Linked DNA regions of Homo sapiens: all the other regions are linked to region 2. The links are contacts of gene promoters, found by promoter capture Hi-C in blood cells and fetal thymus (Javierre and others, 2016). All regions are on one chromosome and are shown on one strand. Each heading gives the region's core, a stretch centred on a gene start or on the middle of the fragment in contact. The rest is flanking DNA. Distances are from core to core; before and after follow the strand shown.

The links. The method cuts DNA at HindIII sites, captures the fragments that hold promoters and counts their contacts. A CHiCAGO score of 5 or more calls a contact.
Region 1: a contact is called between the fragment with the promoter of NECTIN1 here and a fragment that was not itself captured in region 2, in 2 of 17 cell types (endothelial precursors and M0 macrophages). The highest score is 7.7, in endothelial precursors.
Region 3: the fragment with the promoter of NECTIN1-AS1 here is called in contact with a fragment that was not itself captured in region 2 in 6 of 17 cell types (megakaryocytes, M0 macrophages, M1 macrophages and 3 more); the score reaches 10.5 in megakaryocytes.

Annotation. Positions count from the first base shown.
Region 1 is chr11:119,727,739-119,731,787 of GRCh38, reverse strand. NECTIN1 (nectin cell adhesion molecule 1) reads left to right here and starts at 2,588. Exons shown (of 6, transcript NM_002855.5): 1 at 2,588-3,313. The coding sequence starts at 3,235. NECTIN1-DT (NECTIN1 divergent transcript) reads right to left here and starts at 2,205. Exons shown (of 4, transcript NR_120587.1): 1 at 1,982-2,205. RefSeq lists enhancers at 1,542-2,402, 2,403-3,264 and silencers at 2,203-2,612, 2,673-2,992. The HindIII fragment of the contact is 12,809 bases long and covers 1-4,049 here.
Region 2 is chr11:120,105,250-120,109,467 of GRCh38, reverse strand. No RefSeq gene overlaps it. Among named protein-coding and RNA genes, the nearest start is that of TRIM29, 31 kb to the left of the region's middle. RefSeq lists an enhancer at 972-1,021. The HindIII fragment of the contact is 2,835 bases long and covers 971-3,805 here.
Region 3 is chr11:119,708,052-119,711,744 of GRCh38, reverse strand. NECTIN1-AS1 (NECTIN1 antisense RNA 1) reads right to left here and starts at 1,825. Exons shown (of 3, transcript NR_183634.1): 1 at 1,715-1,825. The region is part of intron 1 of NECTIN1 (nectin cell adhesion molecule 1); the gene reads left to right. The HindIII fragment of the contact is 5,414 bases long and covers 1-3,460 here.

The DNA of each region.
Region 1 (4,049 bases), core at 1,339-3,838, 380 kb after region 2:
TCTCTCTCCTGCCTCTTTTGGTCCAAATCTGATCTGTCCTTCAGGGTCTCAGTTAAATGTCCCCTCCCCCAGCAACCTTCCCTGCTTGTTTAAAGATGATGAGTGAACAACCATACTATATCACTTACTTGCTTCCATCTTCTCCACCCAACCAATCCCCAGGCAGCCACATCTTCCCTGCTGGCCGCACCCTCTTTGGAAGCTCATTTAAGATCAGAGGATCAAAGAAGCCTGACCTAAAGATGGAGAGAGTGCAGCCGGGTACAGTGGCTCATGCCTGTAATCCCAGCACTTTGGGACACCAAGGAGGGCAGGTCACCTGAGGTCAGGAGTTCCAGACCAGCCTGGCCAACATGGAGAAACCCCGTCTCTACTAAAAATACAAAAATTAGCCGGGCGTGGTGGCACACACCTGTAATTCCAGCTACTCGGGAGGCTGAGACAGGAGAAACACTTGAACCTGGGAGACAGAGGTTGCAGTGAGGTGAGATGGCGCCACTGCACTCCAGCCTGGGCAACAGAGCAAGACTCTGTCTCAATGAAATAAAATAAAATAAAATTAAATTAAATTAAAATAAAATAAAATAAAATAAAATAAATAAAATAAAATAAAATAAAATAAAATAAAGATGGAGAGGATGGGAGGGTAAGAGCAGGGAACAAGAAGACATTGGTACATCTGGGATTGCCCCTTCAAACCATGCCTTCAGCTCCTGCAGTGTGCCTGGCACAGAGCTAAAGGCCATCACAATGAATTCAATTCAACCCTGGCCCTTAAAGCACTCAGCAGCCAGATGGGAGATTCCCAGCTGCCACAAACTAAATCTGATAGCGTGTTCCCCAGTTTAAAACCCTCCTAGCAGCTACCGGGCATGATTCACGAATCTGCAGACCTCTCCTTTCCTCAAGTCTTAGGCTCAGGCTAAACCAGTCAACCCTTTGTGGGCCCCCTACTCACCTGACTATTGCTTACCTTCATTCCTTTGCTCGTGCTGACCCTCTACCTTAAATCCAGTCTCTTTTATGTCTCTGCCCTCCAGCACTTACCTTGGTCTGATAGATGACTCACCGAGACCCTGTGTTCGCTTCCCTGAAGCCTTTACACCAACCCCACCCCGGGCTAAACTGGGCACTTTTTCTGTGACCCACCAAACCCACACAATCCCATATTAAATATTTGTTTACGACATCCGTTTCTATGTCTGTCTTCCCCCACCCTTCAACTAGATTGAGTTCCTTCAGGACAATGATGATGTCTCTGTATCCCCAAGCCAGGCACTGTGTTTTGACACAAAGAAAGCCCAGGTTACATTTGTTAAATGTAAAAGACCATACAGTGAGTGGGTGAGTGTTCATGACAATGCCAGATCTGACTACTTCCGCGAGAAACCGAGACACTCCAGGGCCGGATTCCAGACAGTGGGAATATGGCGCTGTCTTTGCCCCTTCTCCAGTGAGGAACCAGAATTTACGTGTTATCAGAAACAGCCACTTCCCCTCTGCTCCTGCCCGCCTAGAGGGCTGGGCAAAGGGTAGAGGGAGCAGTGTCCGGCCAGGGTCTGGGGAGAATTCGGCTCTCCTTAGTGGGAAACTCTGTCTGTCTTCCTCCCCCAGGGGGAGGGGATGGGGATAGGAGGACCAGAGTAAGGGGAAGAGGGAAGGCCCGGAGGGCGCAGTCGCCTTGGCAGAAATCCTACCACACCCGGATGTAGTGGGTGGTGAACGGGATGGGGCGGAGAGTCCCTGCCCTGCCAGGGACACTGACTGGACGATCCACTTTCGCGGGAATCCCACAAATCTCTCAAAACTAAGGTCCTGGAAACTGGAGGAGAGCTCGTTTTCAGGCTATGTTTGGGCAAGGGCGGGGCGCGGGGTGCTTCAATTTTTGGAAAAGGAACCCCCGAAGGGAGCAGGGATTAGAAAAGAAACTCTACCAGAAACCTCAGTGGGCCCGTCTCACCCACTCATGCCCACCACTGACTTCTCTGGCAGCTCCCCGTCGCCCCGCGCACCGCTGCCTCTCCGTGGAACGTCCAAGTGGTGCAGAGGAGAGGGATCTCCGGAGACTGGGTTCTGTTGCGAGCTATGCCACGTTCCGTCCCGGGCGGAACTCTTCTTTGGGCCTTTGTTTCCTCGTCTGTGAAATGGGGCCAGGGTGGGAGCAGAGGGCTTGCAGAAGCCCTGCCAGCTCCCACGCTGCTAGCCGGGATTCTCCATCCCGCCCTCTCCTCCACCGCCGCCCCCGGCCCGGTCCTAACTCCACCCCCACCCGCCGCGCCTCGGCGCCGCCGGCCGCTAGGGGTCACTGCCTGCCTTTGTCAGCGGAGGAGGAGGGCAGCCCGCGCTCCAGCCGGCTCCCCAGCTGGAAGGCGGCCGAGGGGTAGCTCCCGAGCGAGGGTCCTGAGCCGGACCCCGCAGCCCGCGCTCGCGATCCGCCTCTGCTTCGGTCGGGAAGGCGCGTGCGCTCGGGCTCCGACCGGGCCCCGGCGGGCGCGCATCGAGGCCAGGAGGGGGTTAACGCTAACCCCTCCCCTCTGGCTGACATCACGGGCGAGCGGGTGAGAGGCTGGAGCTCGGCGAGTGAGAGAAAGAGAGCGAGAGCAGCGAGCGCGGCTCCACATTGTTGCGGATCGCCGGCACCCGGCAGAGCGGCGGCGGCTGGGACGCGCGGCGCCTCCGACCCGTTCTCCTCGCGCCCGGCCGCGCAGCCAGAGCCACCCGGGCCGCCGACCGCCGAGCCCCGCGCCCGCCGCCTGGGCCCCGAGCCTTCTGCGCCGCCCGGGTGCGTCCCGCCACCCTCGGAGGACGGCCGGCCATGGACGCCTGCAAGTTGGAGCCGAGCGGGAGGGTGTGAGCGGGCCGGGGCCAGGAGCCCGCGCCGCGCAACCGGGCAGCCGGGCGCGCCGGGGGTGGGTCCCTCTCCCCAGCCCCGCTCTGCGTGGAAGAAGAGGGCGGGGACCGGCGCCGGGAGGAGAGCGGAGGAGGCGAAGGGGCATGACTCGTGCAACTTGCGGCGGGCATCTGCCGAGCCTCTGAGCCGGCGGCGGCCCGGGGCCCGGACTGCGGCCGCGCGGATCCCACCCAGCCCACCCCGCCCCGGCCGACGGCTGCAGCTGACCTGGATCCTTCGAGCGCCCGCCGACCGCCAGCGATCTTCCCTCATCTTCCGGGCTGGTTTCTGCTGCGCGAGGAGCGCTGCCCTCGCCGCCCCTCTCGCCGGACCCCCGGCCCCCGATGGCTCGGATGGGGCTTGCGGGCGCCGCTGGACGCTGGTGGGGACTCGCTCTCGGCTTGACCGCATTCTTCCTCCCAGGTAAGAGCGCTCACCTCTGCTGTCCCCACCCCCATCCAATGCCTCCCCGGGGCTGGGAGCCGGATGGCGGGCACGACTGGATTGTGGGGAGTGAAAGGAGCCAGAAAAGTTGGGTCACGGCTTGGGTAAAGGGGGTGGGAGGTGGCACGGCGGAGAAAGAGGTTGAGAAGCCGAACCGCCTGCCCTGCAGGGAAGCAGTCAGATGCACGTCTCTATGTAGCATGAAAGCACTTTCTCCGCTCAGTTCTTTACAAAAAATAATAATATGTAATAGCGTTCTGTTTATTTAATAACCAGCTCTCTGCTCGGGAAGCAGTTTGGAAACACTGCGTGTTACATAAATGCAAAATAATCACCGTAATCACCGTCTTGGGGTGGGAGACAACAGCCCCAGGGGGAGGGCGTCAGTCTCGGAGCTGCGGGTTTGGAGTATGGCGGGGGGGCTTCGTCTCTTTCGGCGGCCCCTTTGCCAGACGGCTCAGGACGCTCGGGCCCCCTCCCGCCCCACACCGCCCCACAGCGGGCGCGGAGAGTCGGCTGCTGCGGCAGAGGCGGCTCCTCGCTCACCTGCGGTTCCTTTCCTGGAGGGTGAGGCCGGGGCAGCCTCCTCCCGGCCTGGCGCGGGACCGGGCTCCCCCTCGGAACTCTGCTCCCAGCTCTGGGGGCTCTCCCTGGAGGAGACACCGCGGGCTTCCTGCCATCCAAGTAGCTGCATGACCCACTTTCCCGAGGGTGC
Region 2 (4,218 bases), core at 1,139-3,638:
GAGGTGTGGGTAGCCCCCTGGCAGACCAGCGAGGAGGGAGGCAGCAGAGGGGCTCAGCAGGGAGCTCTGGCAGGGTAGTTGGGAGCCCTGAGTCTCATCCAGGCTCTGTTGCTTGGCTGTGTGATCTGGGCTAATTGCTTGCCCTTTCTGGGTCTGACCTTCTCCATCTACAAAATGAGGTGTATTCATTGGATCATTTCTGGGGTTCTTTCCCAGCTCCAACAGCCTGTGAGGTGGAGACCACAGCAAAAGGAGGGTTGGAAGGGACAGGAACATTGAGCTTGGTGTCAGGTTGGGAATCCACCATCAGACCTGGGCTGATAGGCAGGCAGGTTGGACTCCCAAATCTCCAAGGCTCCCTGTACCCAGCCCCGTGCCTCTCCTTTCCTTTAGACCCTGTCAGGGGCATGGGTCCCCATCTGAGAAGCCTTCTCTGTCCAGGACGGGGGAAGGCTGGAGACGCAGGAGCTTCTGAGCTCTGCTCTGGGCCTCAGGACCTGCTGGAATGTGGACTCCGTGATAGCAGGGGTTATTCCATCATGTTGTCCTAGAACAGTGCCTGGCACGTGGGCGGGCCTTGGAGGCTAAGAAGCAGTTAACTGGGAAGAGGAAGTGGGAGAGGAAGGTGAAAAAATCAAAAGGGGAGCTGGAAGGCATCCAATAATGGGTGCCTGGTACATTTCATTGTGTGGAGAGCTGAGGCATAGGCTTCTGAGGGCACTGTGTGGAGCTGGAGCCACACTGTCAGGGCCAGAATCCTGGCTGCACTGCCCATCAGCTGTAAGACCAGGGCCAAGCTGCCCACTCTGTCTGAGCTTCAGTGGGGATAACATCTTAAAGGACTGCTGTGAGCAACAAAAAACTGCAAAGAACCTGGTTTAGCAAGGGCCCAACAGTTGAGAGATTATACTATTATTATTGTGGAATTAACAACAAAGACAATGACGACATTTCAACCTGGGATGAAGCTTGATTTCCCCTCTTTTTGGCCTTCTGCACTTGGTGGAGAGTCACAGGGTGGAAGCTGCTGGGCCCAGCCCTAGGACCCGCACCAGGGCTCCTGCAGTTCTGAGGCACGGCCAGCAGGTGACAGCATTTCACTGCAGTGAGTGGGCGCCAAACTCCTGCCCCAGCCCGGGCCGTCAGGACTGGGTCCCAGGGCCCTTCTACAAGGTGAGCCTCTCTCTCTCTCCTCCTTCCCCCACTTCTGTATTAGCTGAGTAGGCCCTTCTGTCCTAGCCTGTAGAATATATGACCCCAGGACAGCAGTCCCCTGGTCTGAGCAGCAGATAGGGGCTTACTGCTCACCCCACCAGACCTTGCCTAACCTGGCATGGAATTCTGCAGAAGGGGCAGGCTTCCCTTATGTGGGTGCCACCTTTGGGTTCCCTCTGCAGGTAGCTGGCCTGAGGAGGGGGCTGGGTGGGCACAGAAGGCTCAGTTTTGCAGCCCCCAAAGAGGGCTTGCATGAGTCGGACAGGGCTCTACCCAAGGCAGCTCTTGGTGAAGAGTGAGACAGAAAGCCAGAGTCCTCAAAGTCCAAGGGGGAGGGGACACTGAGGGGCTGCGAACTGCCAAGCTGCTTGACTCTTGTCCCCCTTCCGTGTCCCGGCTACGACATGGGGACCTTTGTCCCTGCCTCCTGATGGACCATGGAGAGAGGTCAGAAGGGTAACAGGTGGGACCCCAGGAATGCCTGTCCAGAGGGGCGGGGGCTGGATGGCTGAGGCAGGGCCATCTCATATCCCACCTCCCTTTCCCACCAAACCCTCAAATCACCTCCCAAGAGTGACCCAGACAGTTTTATCTTTCTGAGTATTGACTATTAAGGTTGAAAATGATCTGTTGTTCAGCCACAGAAACAAGGAAGATAAACACTAATTGCTTGGTGAATGTGCCAACTCCTGGCTCCTAATTCATCACCTTGCCAAGGCAGAGGCTAAGAAGAGGCAAAGGAGTGGGGAGGGGGTGAGGAAACTTGGGAACCAACAGACTCTCTTGCAAGATGTGGCAGTGGATGGGTGACCTCAACCCAGCGGATGAGGATGGTGCCTGGGATCCCTGAAGCTCCCCAGGAAGGACAGGGAGCCAGGTGAGGGAGGGAGGAGAGGTCTTTGGCCGGGCTTATCGTTATCAATACATTCATCCCAAGTGGACATATAACGTGTTTCCTCGTTGGCCTTGAGGTTGGCTCTGGTTAGCAAATTCTGCATTTTTCTGAGGTTGGTCCCATTATCATGTTAAGATCCTGAACTGGCTGAATTGAGGGGCTGCAAACCCTGTTACGGATTGGTAACTTGCAGGATTCAGATCTGGCTGTGGAAGGTGGAGCCCTGAGAGCTTGTCTGAGAAGGAGGCGGCATATTCTTTGAGGGTGAGGTGTGGGTCTTTGATGGTTCAGGTGTGGACCTGCCTGGAGTGGGGACTGCACTAGGTGACCTGAGCCCAAGACTGGGGGCATTGTACAGGCCTAGGGGGGAGAGAGGTGCACAGATACCTGATGAGGAGCAGGAATGGAGGCGTGGCTCGGGGGAGGCCTGCATTCATTCAGATTTTTGTGTTGGACCAAGATCTAAGCACAAGATATAGGAGACACAAGCTGCCTCTCTGCATGAATTCACAAGACTGGGCCTGTGAGCTGATCCAGAAGGTGATCAGAGCGTGCAGGGCCCAAAACGGTGATGAGGAGGCATGTCCCCTGAGGAGGGGACAGCTGTGCTGAGAGTGAGTTGAGAAGATCTGGGGGGACCTGAGTGAGTTCTGCATGTGTGAGAAAGGCAGGGCAGGATCATGCCGGGCTACATAGGGGCTGAGCTTTACCGTAAACACAGTGACCACCTCCATGGGAGGGTGAGTAATCAGATCAGTGCTCTAAGAAGAGGACTCAGGAATGAACCGAGGTGAAGCAAGAGTGGAGGCCCAGGTGCGCTATACTGGTGGCTTGAGACATCATTGATGGGACCGACTGTGGCAGGTGGAGACGCTGGTGGCATTGCAGGTGCAGGAGCAAGCAAAGACACAAGCAGGATGTGCAGAGGATGCAGGGTTTAGGAAACAGTTGAGAGCTAAGGGCCAGTGAGTGGAGGAGGGGAGTTGGAGAGTAGGTCCCTGTTGCAGGAGCACTAATGCCAGAGAGGGAGACTGCAGCACAGCTGCCATGGGCTGAGGGGGGCGGAACTGCCATGAGGTGGGTGTGGAAGCAGGGAACACTCTTGGGGGATGATACAGTCCCAGAGATCATCCTCTGTCTGTGCCTCTCTGAGAGAGGCAATGTGCCACTCTGTACCTGACCTGACTTGGCTGGGTCAATAGAAGAAGCTACTTACGCTTCCTTACCCTCAGTTTTCTCATCTGCCAAATAGGGCTAATCATAGTGACCGTATGGGTTTGTAAGAGGATCAAATGAAAGGAGGCAAGTAAGTGTTTCACAGTGCCTGGTGCATCATCACTTGATAAATAGGTGCCTGATGCATGGTGGAGAGCAGGACACAGGGTCCTTTCCCTGCCTCAGGCACTTCTTCCCTGACTGCTGCTTTTGTTGCTGGTGGTGATGGCAGAATCTAATCCCTGGCATTTCAGGGAGGGCCTGCTTAGCTCCTCGAGGCCACCTGGCTCTGGTGTCTGGGTCCCTCCTTCCCTGGTGGCCATGCAGTCATGGGTCCTCTGGGCTGCATCTGGCAGGAAAGCCAGACTGCAGGAGGAGTGGAGGCTAATTCTTCTCCTCCCAGTGGCAGACCAGCCGCTACATGCATGGGTGGCCGGGGTAATTAATTTACACATTTTATCCTGCTTAAACTAATAAGCTTCTCTAGCTTCCTCCACTGAGCCCGAGCCTTCGAGCTGAGCCTGCCAGAAACGTTATCCTGCCCCCCAGGAAGTCTGATGGGGCTTACAGTTGTCCTGTGGGCTCGGGCCAAGGCTCCCAGGCCCTGTGTCCACACTTCCGAGGCTGCTTATTTTGGCCGCTCCTAGCCTGCTGGTCCAGGTATGCCACAGAGGCATCTTAAGATGCCAGTCAACACTGCACACCCTGATGGAAAAGCAGGACTTGGGAGCCCATCCTTCCAGCCCCCTGCCCCACAGCCTCCCGCTCCTGAAGTAGCAGGGTCTGGCTCCAGGACGCCTGGGAACACAAAGTCCTCCTCCATGTAGTGAAAAAGAAGTCTTTAAGACAGGTTGTGGAGTGAAGATAGTGACGTGGGAATAATGTGTGACGTA
Region 3 (3,693 bases), core at 576-3,075, 400 kb after region 2:
CCTATTTTAGGTTCCAGTCAAAATAAACTGCTCCTGGCTTCTCCAGTGCACTCCTCGGCCTTGGCTCCTGATGATGGCTGAGCCCCAACACACCCACCTGTGAAATGCGAGGCTCCCAGACACCAGCCCCCCTTCCCCTTCTGTGTTGTTTAGTATTTACTTTCTCTCCTCCCCTCACCCAGCACCTGAGCTCTTTGAAGGATAGGACCCAGCCTTAAAATCTCTGCAGGCCCTAGCTCAGCACCTTGCACACAGTAGGTGTCCCATAAATGTACAGTAAACCGATGGGAGCTGGCTGGCTTCACAACCCTGATAAGCTGTGAGGTTTCCTTCTCCATGCCTTTTTTTTTTTTTTGAAACAGAGTCTCACTCTGTTGCCCAGGCTGGAGTGCGGTGGCACGATCTCAGCTCACTGCAATCTCTGCCTCCTGGGTTCAAATGATTCTCCTGCCTCAGCCTCCCAAGTAGCTGGGATTACAGGCACCCACCACCACGCCTGGCTAATTTTTGTATTTTTAATAGAGATAGGGTTTCACCATGTTAGTCAGGCTGGTCTCGAACTCCTGACCTCAGGTAATCCACCTGCCTTGGCCTCCCAAAGTGCTGGGATTACAGGCATGAGCCACCGTGCCCAGCCAGCCTCCCGTGCCCCTTTCTTTCTGTTTTTGGTTTTTTTTTTTTTTTGGCAACCCTATTTAACCCCCATGCCAAGAAAGGAAAACTTCTGATGCTTTCCTTTTACTTGACACCTCCCCTCCCATCTCATTTTGTTTGCAGTAAACAAAATCATCTTTTTTCCATTTGCTCAATATTTATCAGCACCAGGAAGGTCTGCGGTTATGTGTGTGTGAAGTTGTGCGTGGATGTGTGGTTTGACAGGCGGGCGCTGTGTGATGGCACGGTTCTTTGTGTGGGGTGTTAGTGTTTGAGTCAGAAATTATACTCTCCACACCAGGACTTGTATGGGGTCTTCTCTCCCATGAACTCCTCTACACTTCAAACTCCTCTCACACTGGGCTTATCCCATAAGCTCTGACCTTTCAGTCCACCATGCCTTTGCTGTTCCTGTCTCCTCTGCCTGGAGGACCCTACTTCACCAGCTGGCAAACTCCTACTCATCCTTCAAAGCCCAGTGAAATTTTACCTCCTGTGGGACACCTCTTGTTTCTCTAATTCTCCTCCCCACATTCATCATTTCTTCCTGTATCATCATGGCACTTTGTGAACAGTCCTACCGTAGCAGTGATCATGTCAGTGAATTTATCCTGTGTCCTTGATATCCTTCACATGCATACACACGCATGCAGGGCTGTGTGTGTGTGTGTGTTTATAGCCCTACTGGCAGGCACTTGGTAGGTTCTTAATACTTGTTTATTAAATAAATGAGAATAAATTGCTTGCTTGGTTTTCCAAAGCATTTTCTTTGTACGGTGTTAGAGGAATGTGTCTGTGCAATGACTCTGCCTGACCTTCCCGCACTGCTCCCGCGTGTTCCTGAGCATGTCGACCTGTGTGCATACCGCAGCGTTCAGCTGCACATGTGTGCTTGGGTGCGCGTGTGTGCGTGCATGTGGCTCTGTTTCAGCGCTTCTGTAAATGGAAAGCTGTGGCTGCCCCTCCCCAAGCTGACATTCCCTCAGCACCACGCCCCCACCTTTGAGGACTGAAGGGGTGACTGGGTGGTGACTTCCCCCAGGCAGCTTTCTCTACCCACCTGATGTCCCCCTCCAAGAACGGTGACCCAGGGTTTCCCGTCCATCCTGGGGGCTGAGCTCTCTGCGGCCTCGTCACATCACACTCCCTTCCCTATCCATCTCTGCCCTGTTTAATTGGAATTTGGCTAGTGGAGACCATCTGTTCTATTCCGGCCTGTTTCCATGACAACCAAGTGGCTTGAGACTGAGGTTTGTGGTGAGAGAAGTGGCCTGGGGGATGCTGGGAAAAACCAGCTAGGTCCTCCCCCTCAAACCCGCTCCGCCTCGTCCTGCCCTCTCTCCACAAACCCGGAGTTAAAATAAAGCTGTTCCCTGCCTGAGAGTTGGGGAGTCCCCGAGCATCACTCTCCTCTCCCAGCCCCCAGCCCCCAGCCCCAGTCTTTCCCAGGCTCCTTTCAGGCTTCCCACACGGGGCTCCCCTCCCTCCCTGCTTCCATTCAAGAGCACCTTCTGCCCTTACAGACTAGGGAGCTAGCCCTTCCCTTCCCCAACCCCTGAACCTCCACCCCTGGAAGTGAGTGCTTCCTCACAGCCTGGTTACAGACGCTCAGGGCCCCACAGAAAGGACTCTTTAGAGGGTAGTCTCGGCTTCCTCTGCGCCCCTGCCCCTGCAGGCTCTCCCCCGGCCCCAGGTAGCAGAGTGGCCCAGGCAAGTGCGTGGCAGACAGAGGCGCCCTGGGCCCGGATGTGGAGCTGGTGATCCCAGATTCTCAGGGGCTGAGACAGGCCCTGGTACACTGGGGATATGAGTGAGGGGGTCTCTTATTTCTGAACAGACAGTTCTGTTTTCACGGTGTTATTTTCTGCCCTAATTTCCCCATCTATGGCAAAGCCTCTTCGTGCCTGTTCTATTACCAAGGGACCCGCCTGTCTTCAAAAATAGGTGGTGTGGCTTGTCAGGTGACCGTCTGTCGCTCTGGTCCCAGGCATCTCATGCAGGATATGTGCGATATGTTGGCTATGTGGGCGGGCGTGGGGGGTAGAGTGTCTCAGGATCTCTCCGGTGCCCCCTCCCCCAGCAAAATCAGTCCTGGGCAGAATCAGTCCTGGGCAGTCCTGAGGAGGGAAGCTGAGTCTTGGACTTCAGAAGACCGGTGCTCTTAGCAGCTGCGCTGAGCCGTGGGACCCCAGGGCCCCCACGCTTGGGGGTGCTGCAGGCTTGCAGAGGTCTTCTGGTAGCCTGCTTGTCTCCAGCCTAGCCCTGCCATCATCCATCCTTCTTCATGTGCCTCTTTTCTTCTTTTGTCTTTGTTGAGATATAATTCGCAAACCACAAAATTCGCCCTCCTGAAGTATACGAGTCAGTGGCTTTAGTATATTCACAATAGGCCGTCACCACTGCCTAATCCACAGCATTTTCATCACCTCGGAAAGAACCTCGGTATTCATTAGCAGTCACTCCCCATTTTCCCTCCCCCGGCCCCTGACAACCACTCATCTACTTTCTGTGTCTATGGATCTGCCTATCCTGGACATTTCGTATAAATGGAATCATACAGTATGTGGCCTTTTGTGACTGACATCTTCTACTTAGCATTCCATGTGCCTCTTTCCAAAGCACAGATGTGACCATGTCACCACTTTGCTTAAAAGGCGTCAGTGGCTCCCAGTTGCCTACAAGGTGAAGTTCAGACCCTCATCTAATACAAAGCCCTTTTACAACTGGCTCCTACCTTGCTTTCCATTCACCCTGTATTCCCCTCTCCTCTGCCCCACATATCCAGTGCTTTCGCCACATCCAAGCTTTTAAAGACACTCTTTCCTCTTTTCCTCTTCCCCTCCTGTTCCCTTCCCTCTCTCTGTCTGTCTCTGTCTCTGTCTCTATCTCTGTCTGTCTCAAGGACTCCTGCTTATCCTGCAGGACCCAGCTAAAAAATCTCACATCTTCTGTGGCGCCTCCGTCACCTTCAGACAGAATCACTCCCCCTTCTGAGCTCCCATTGCTTTGGGTTTGTATTTTTCAGAAACAAACAAAAAC